Linked DNA regions of Homo sapiens: all the other regions are linked to region 3. Evidence: promoter capture Hi-C in 16 types of primary human blood cells and fetal thymus (Javierre and others, 2016). All regions are on one chromosome and are shown on one strand. The core of a region is centred on a gene start or on the middle of the fragment in contact, and the rest is flanking DNA. Distances in the headings are between cores, read along the strand shown.

Evidence for each region. Contacts are between HindIII fragments. The CHiCAGO score rates a contact against its expected background, and 5 or more counts as called.
Region 1: a fragment that was not itself captured here is called in contact with the fragment with the promoter of MAG in region 3 in 8 of 17 cell types (naive B cells, total B cells, monocytes and 5 more); the score reaches 9.0 in naive B cells.
Region 2: a fragment that was not itself captured here is called in contact with the fragment with the promoter of MAG in region 3 in 2 of 17 cell types (total B cells and naive CD8 T cells); the score reaches 7.8 in total B cells.

What each region holds. Positions count from the first base shown.
Region 1 is chr19:35,161,594-35,164,293 of GRCh38, reverse strand. FXYD5 (FXYD domain containing ion transport regulator 5) reads right to left here. Exons shown (of 9, transcript NM_014164.6): 6 at 49-138. Among named protein-coding and RNA genes, the nearest start is that of FXYD5, 8.2 kb to the right of the region's middle. The HindIII fragment of the contact is 159 bases long and covers 1,342-1,500 here.
Region 2 is chr19:35,135,780-35,138,479 of GRCh38, reverse strand. It overlaps a transcript of FXYD1 not described here. Among named protein-coding and RNA genes, the nearest start is that of FXYD1, 1.7 kb to the left of the region's middle. The HindIII fragment of the contact is 1,017 bases long and covers 926-1,942 here.
Region 3 is chr19:35,290,820-35,293,519 of GRCh38, reverse strand. MAG (myelin associated glycoprotein) reads right to left here and starts at 1,359. Exons shown (of 11, transcript NM_002361.4): 1 at 1,316-1,359. The HindIII fragment of the contact is 16,958 bases long and covers 1-1,835 here.

The DNA.
Region 1 (2,700 bases), core at 172-2,671, 130 kb after region 3:
AGTGAACAGAAAATAGCCTGTTTCCAGTCTGGGGAGGCAGTTACTAACCAGATGGCTTGAGGGTCTGGGGGTCTGTCTGGACGTCTGTGCTTGGGGATGGTCTCTCAGAGAGCGTCGTGGTGTCATCAGTGGGATGAGCTGAGAGAGTGGCCAGATCAGTGGAGGGCAGGAGTGAGCCATGGAGGCAGAAACAAGGGATATTACTGAGAGTCTGCATCTGGAAGAAACCCCTCTCCCACATCTACACAGCTGGTGTGCAGGGTCAGGCATCCCCCCTACTCCACACCTAGAGGCAATAAGTAATGACAGGCATTGAAATGCTGAAATAAGCACATAGCCCCGGTTGCGACTATCTGATCTGCCTCAATCCCCGAGGGACTCCAGACCCCTCTCCTAGGACCTTCTGGCCCACACTATAATCCAGGAGATAAAGGAACGAAAGGGCAACACCTGCCAAGGACTCTGACCCAGCTACATAGTCTGGAGAAACTTGTAAAACATTCTGAATATTGGCTGGGTGCAGTGGCTCATGTCTGTAAACCCCAGCACTTTGGGAGACTGAGGCGGGCAGATCACCTGAAGCCAAGAGCTCAAGACCAGTCTGGCCAACATGGTGAAACCCCGCCTCTACTAAAAATACAAAAATTAACTGGGCCTGGTGGCACACACCTGTAATCCCAGATACTTGGGAGGCTGAGGCAGGAGAATTGCCTGAACTCGGGAGGTGGAGATTGCAGTGAGCCAAGATTTCGCCACTGCACTCCAGTCTGGGCAACAGAGCAACACTCTGTCTCAAAAACAACAACAACAACAAAACTATTCTGAATATCACCTCTGCCCCCAGACCGAAAATACCAAAGGATTCTTCTCTTGAAAAAAAAAAAAAAATCAGTACCTCCAAAGAAAAGGCCTCCCCCAAGCACTGAGAAGTGCCCCCACACCACATCGGAGGCCTCAACAAGAAGCCAGCAGACAGAGAAGCTCCCTCGTGAAACCCAAGTTCCCTGGAATTATCTCAGTGCCCCACACCCTAAATAGGAACTGGCAACCAAGGATTACAAGATATTCAGGGAATGCATTGCCCAGAGGAAGGTATAAGCCAGATCCACGGCAGAGACCACAGGAATGCGAAGGACAGCCATACTGGTGTGTGGTGCTCATGCACCCTGGGGTGAGACAGTCTGGACTCAAATTCCGGTTCTGCCACTCTTGGCTGTATTGCCTAGGGCAAGCTGAGTAACCTCTCTGGGCCTCAGTTCCTTTTCCTGTAAAATGGGAGTAATGACAGTTCCCACCACACAGGATGATCACAAGCATCAAATGACTGAATACACAGAAGCTTAGCACAGTGCCCAGCATGAACAAGCTCTCAGCAAAAGTCAGCCATTGCTATTACTGTCTGCTCAGCACTCTTCCTCCTTCTGGAACAGCTCTCCCTTTCTTTGTGGGAAGACATTGCCCTCCCTTCCCCAGTTATAACCCAGGCTACAAAAGGAAGCTTGTGACCTCAGTCTGGTCCTTCCCTGAGACCTTTGAAATCCCAAGTAGGGATATTGAGTGACAGCTAGGTACTATAGACTGAATTCTATCCACCCCACCAAATTCCATGTGATGGTATTTTGGAGCGAGGGCCTTTGGGAGGTAATTAGGGTTAGATAGGATCATGAGGGTGGGGCCCTCATGATGGGATTAGTGCCCTTATAAGAAGACACCAGAGAGCTTGCTTTCAAGCTCACAAGCCCACCCACACATGGAGAGGACATGGTGAAGACAGAGCAAGAGAATGGCTGTCTGTGACCCAAGGGGAGCCCTCGACAGACACCAACCCTTCTGGCACCTTGATCTTGGACTTCCCATCTCCAGAACCGGGAGAAATGAATTCCTATTGTTTAAGCCATCCAGTCTGTGGTATTTTGTTATCGTAACCTGAGCAGATTAAAACCCTAGGTGAAGTCTGGAAGTTTTGAGCTAGGAGGCTCAAATAACATGAGCCATTTCCTTCCTAGGTGGAAGAGAAGCAAAGATAGAGGAGGAAGAGAGGCCCTGGGGGCTTTCATGCCCAGCCTCTAGGCAACCCAGAGGCTCAGCAGTGACAGCCATTTGTCCTTGATGAATTTCTGTCACATATATCCAGGAACATGGACCAATACATAGAGCAACTCAGGTCAGCAAAGACTCAGTAAATTAATGCAGTGATGTGAGAATGCTTTATCATTGATAAGTGTGGACACAGCTGCTATCCCCCACCCCTACAGGTGCACTTTTGTACAAACTAGAAAAGTTCCCTTCTGTAAAGCACTTTATTTCCATCCATTGTAGGATTGTTTTAATAGATAGATTCTGTAAGAATGAGATGCTTTGCTGCTATCACTAGAAAACTGGAACAATTATAAAGACCGACAAAGGGAATGGCATTGCCCGAGAGGTGGTGCTCTCGTTCAGTACCCAGTCTGCACAACTGTACATGTCTCTCTGGGAGTGGCCTACTCTACAACACTTTCCAGTGTGGGGCTGCCCCTCAAATAAGGATCATCACGCAGGCATTAGAGGCGATCTGTTGCCTTATCTCAGCTCAGTCTCCTTTCCCACACCTTCTGGTAATACTAACTCACTTGTCCAAAGGAAAATCCCCTCTTCCCTGACTCTTGGTCTATGTGGTTCAGGCATGGCTGGCTGAGCCTCTTCTCTAGCCCCAGGGTG
Region 2 (2,700 bases), core at 185-2,684, 160 kb after region 3:
TGACTGCCCAGGAGCCCACTGACCCCCGATCCCAGTGCTCCGTGAGGTCCTTAACAGGGCTGTTTTAGAGGACGGGAGGGAGGTGTGTGTGTGTGTGTGTGTGTGCGCGCGCATGTGCGCTATCTGCTGTGGTGAGATCCCCAGAAATGCACCACACACACACACCCACACACAATCCCAAAGACCCAGATATACAGGTACAAAACCAGACAAAACCATGTATGTATGTACATCCATAGAAGCAGACACACACAGAATGACACACTGATAGAGAAACCCAAAGACCCGGACACACAGCCAACACCTTTTATGCCAGTCACAAAATACCAGAACAAGCACATTTATGTCTACACAGACCCACGCACGCTCATGTAGATGGATGGCCACACAGAGATACAGTCAAAGACATAGCCACATCACCATCTACACTCACAAACTGGCCACAAAAATGCATGTTTATGTGAAGACCCACCCACAAATGGCCATACAGAAACACACAAGTATGTGCACACCGCACATAAATGCATTCTAAGATGCATGGCCAAACATGGCCAGGTACGGTGGCTCACACCTGTACTCCCAGCACTTTGGGAGGCCAAGGCGGGAGGATCACTTGAGGCCAGGAGTTCAACACCAGCCTGGCCAACCCGACGAGAGCTCGTCTCTACTAAAAAAATATACAAAAATTAGCTGGGTGTGGTGGCGTGCGCCTGTAATCACGGCTACTCCGGAGGCTGAGGCAGGAGAGTCACTTGAGCCCGGGAGGCAGAGCTTGCAGTGAGCTGAGATCATGCCACTGCACTCTAGCCTGGGCAACAGAGCGAGACTCTGTCTCAAAAACAAAAACAAAACAAAAAAACCCCAAAGGTACAGACATGCAGCCAGCACTCCTACATGGTCCCAAAGATAGGAAGGCCAACAAGCTTGTGTACACACAGACAGATTTCCATGGGCACAGATACACAAGCAGAAACACCATCAAGGACAACCCGCCGCTCTCACACATACCCACAAAAGCAGAAACACACACACTGGTTCACACCCTATGCTTGAGCAAACAGGCACATGGTTGGCCACGGTGACAGATGCGCAGGCTGACACACTTGCATGTTCACACATTCCAAAACCACAGATATGTATTTAACCCCACACTTTCCTTCCCCTGAGCTCTTGTCGGGGACAACACACCTGGCGTCCCCATGGGCAGGCCAGGTTTACAGGTCCTGGTGACAGGGAAACCTGGAATGGCCCAGGCACTGCACTCCTGGTTGTGTGAACTTGAGCAGCTCTGTGCCTCATTTTCACATGCTCCAAAATGGAAAAATCACTAAGATCACGTGTATAATCCTGGACAGGGCTCAGAGGTCTCTGAACTTGACATTGTCTTATGATTAACTTCATTTTTTGTTTGTTTGTTTGAGACCGGGTCTTGCTCTGTCACCCAGGCTGAAGTGCAATGGCACAATCATAGCTCACTGTAGCCTCAACCTCATGGGCTCAAGTGATTCTCCCACCTCAGCTTCCTGAGTAGCTGGGACTATGGGCGTGCGACACCATGCCTGGCTAATTTTTTAATTTTTTGTACAGTCGGGGTTTCTCTATGTTGCCCAGGCTTGTCTTGAACTCCTGGCCCCAAGCGATCCTCCCACTTCAGCCTGCCAAAATGTGGGATTACAGAAATGAGCCACCGTGCCTGGCCTATTATTATTGTCCTTGTCATCCTCCTCCTTGTGAACTGGACTGCTGGGCTGGGCACCCTATGAGAGTGGGTTCAGATCCCTCTGTGCCCCTGGCACTCAGCTCTCCAACTTCACTTTCAGGGACCCTGTTTATCATACCCAATAGTCAGTGAAGGAAACTGAGAGCTGACGGGCATGGCTCAAACCACAAGCTGCTGGGGTCTGCTCCTCTAGGAGCTGGATCCGGAGCCCACCCCCAAGCTTGCCGACCACTGTGGGATGCCCACCTTGTGCTGAACCCCAAAAGGATGAGTTGCCTCCATCACCTGAGTCCTCTCCACAACTGGGAAGCGGGTGCCACGATTGTCCCCGTTTGACAGATGGGAAAACTGAGGCCACACAGGACTGGGCCTGGAACCCAGATCTGCATGACCTCCAAGCTGTTAAGCCCCCTTATCCTCCAACGAGGCTTCTGGGCGTGGGCGTCAGTGTCAAGAGAGGCTGCATGCATTCCTCAATCACAGGATGAGTCTCGTCCCCAGGCGATGAGGTGGTACAGCCTAGGGGTTAGGTTTAGAGCTGACTAGAGCCAGGAAACTAATCACATAACTTCCCTGTGCCTCAGTTTCCCCATCTGTAAAGCAGGGATAGCAGTACTGCCCATCTCACAGGGTGGCTGTGAAGGCTGAGTGAGTATAAACATTACTACTATTTCATCTTAGCTAACAAGTGTCATTTACTTATGTTTCTTATTTAGTGGACAGAATCTATCCAAATGACTAAAATTTAGTCCAGATTAAAACAACCAATTATCCATCTATCCATGAACTCTGATCTCCAAAGAAAGAATGCAAAATAACCTGGAGCCGGATGCCTGGGTTTGAATCCCGGCTGTGCCCTCAGCTGGGTAACCTAGAGTTCAGGTTCCCTGACCTCTGTCTCCACTTCCTCCAGCTGTAAAGTGGTGATGATGACAGCACTAACTTCAGAGGGCTTTGGCAAGATCAGAATGAGTTAATAG
Region 3 (2,700 bases), core at 110-2,609:
GCGGGGATGAAATGTGACAGATGTAGCCCCAGCCAGAAGGGGCAGGCACACGCAGCGGAGACTCATACAGACACCCAGACAGGACCCTGAACACACAGACAGGCACAGGGACCCCTGTGCCCACAGGGATGGGCTGGCACTCACATAGTTCCCAAGGCGTGCATGCAATGCCTCTGCTGCTGTCCACACACACCTGGACAGACACAGCCCTGGCATTCAGCACACACACACACACACACACACAGCCCAGCATGCATGCCAGGCTAACAAAGATGCAAGGAACTGCACACACACACTGAGGATGGCTATAGACGCGTCCACTCAGACACGCGCCGATGGACACCTGGCCGACGCTGCCCTTGCACCTGTGACAGGAAGGTACAGGAGAGAGATGCAGATGAGGATGAGCACGTGCCCGGGCAGACATGAAACAAGCAGGTAGACCATGCACTCTTAACAGCGGGGAAAACAAGTTCTCGGGATGGGGGCCAAATCAACCTCAGCTATTACAGTGTGTGTGGCCACAGTCCATAAACATATGTACAGCAGATCTGTTGGATTAAAATGCCAAGGGAAGGATGGGATGAGGACAAATGCATCTAAAAAGTTTCTGTAGTTGGGGCCGGGCGCAGTGGCTCACGCCTGTAAACCCAGCACTTTGGAAGGCCAAGTTGGGAGAATCTCTTGTGCCCAGAAGTTTGAGACCAGCCTGGGCAATATAGTGAGAGTCCCGTCTCTTAAAAAAAAAAAAGTAACGAAAAATAAAAAGTGTCCTTAGTGGGGATTAATGAAGAAAAGTCGACTGAGGCTTACAGAGGAAGGTGCATGGGCAGCCATGTGTGTGCACGCACACGCACACACACACACACACACACCTGCTATGTGCCCAGGTGCTAGAATGCAGTCACTAACAGCCCACTGCCCCCATCCACCTCCCAGATTGCAGCCTGCAGGTGTCTGATCACCTGGACATCCTTCCATTCTTCGGCCAGATGCAGACCTCCTCCACCCCATCTGCCCCGCACTCGGGAACCCCAAGGAAACCTCTCCTGCAAAATCTTCACCCACAAGGGGTGCTGAGGGGGGGCCCTTTGTTTTTTCTCTCTGTGGTTTCTTCCCAGAGCCCCATCGCTGCCCCAGCGATGGTCCGAGCCCATCCCCAAAGCAGCCCCAAGCCACACACTCCTGCATCCTAAATCAGTAGCGGTGCACAGCGATGCTCCCTCACCCAGAGCACCTGACCCTGCTCACGTCTGGGTGCCACTGCCCCGGTGCCCTGCTCCCCTTGCCCTGGCCTCCCTGCCACCATACTCACTTGGACTCAGTTGCTTCTGCACCTCTGCTCCGCCAGCCCAGCTCGCAGTCCCCTGCCTTCCAGGGTCTAGGCCCCCACTTGCCAGCCCCTCCCCTCCCCCTGGGTGCCAGGGGCCGCCTGCCTCCAGGGCCCAGCTCCTCCCTACCCCCGGGGGAGGGGGGCACAAAGGGGCCCTTGTCACCACGGGGCTCGGACTGGGCAGCCTGACGCCTGGGTTCTCCTAGCTCTTTCCTGGAGGGGTCGGGAGTGGCTGCCTTGCTCTCTCCCCATCTTCCATCCCTGTACACCCTGATTCTGGGTCCCGGGGGTGGGGGGGCAGTCTAATCTCTTTGGAAGTCCCAGGCTGAGGGACAGAGGCATTGTCCTCAGGGAATCTTGGTGGCAACATTAGGTGGGCAGCAGGAGGAGACAGGTCCTTTCCACCCTCAACGTCAGTGTCACCTCCTCTTGCCATCTGAAATGACCTTCCGTGTTCACCAACTCCTTTCATGAGAACGTGACCTCCACCAGGCCAGAAGCTTCGTCTTGGATATTCTCAATCCATCCTTGCTCGTAGACAAGCTCCTGGCAGGCAGTTGAGCTTAATAAACAGTGTGGGTGGTTGAATGTGTTCCCCAGAGCCCCAGGGCACCTTCAGACTCAAGGCCTGTGCACCTGCTGCTCATTCTTCCTGGAAAGCAGTCCCCACCCCATAGCACTCCCCACTCTGGCACTGGCTGCCGTTCACCCATCCTGTAGGCTCAGCAGCCTGGGTGCCGCTTCCCTGGGAAGCTTTCCCATCTTCGCCCATCAGCCAGGCCCCTCCATTGCAATGCTGTCCTTTCCTTCTGTAGCCTTGGCAGGCTGGCCCGTGTGCACCCTAGGTCTGCCCGCCTCTGCCTCCCACTAACCCAGGAGCTCTCAGAGGCAGGGGCTCACCAGAAACCTATCTGCCTCTCTGTCTGTCATGTGCACCCTTCTGTCCCCGGGGCAGTGCTTGGTGCACATAGGACTGTGCTGACCAAGTTGGGCAAGGACCCTCTGAGTGCAGATTCCACCCCTTGGTCATGACTTTTGCAAGGTGGGTGGGGGCTCGGGGCAGCTGGAGGTGGCGTGACAAAGTGCAGCAGTGATTTCACCATGAGCTGTTCAGCCTCACTGGGACATCTCCTGTCCTCCTTCAGGCCAGAGCAGTGGGGAGGGGGGGTCCTCGCTCTCAAGGGAGAACCCAGGGGGTGAGGGGCGGGGAAATCCCTCAGACCAGGGAGAGAAGCGTTGTGGGGCTGGGGGGGAGTTGGAGGGGGAGGGGGAGTCCCACCCCCACCCCAGGCTTCATGATGTCAGACTCTGCCCGTGCCTTTCCCAGTCCGGGACAAAGGACCATTGAGAGTCGGGCGGGGCTTGAA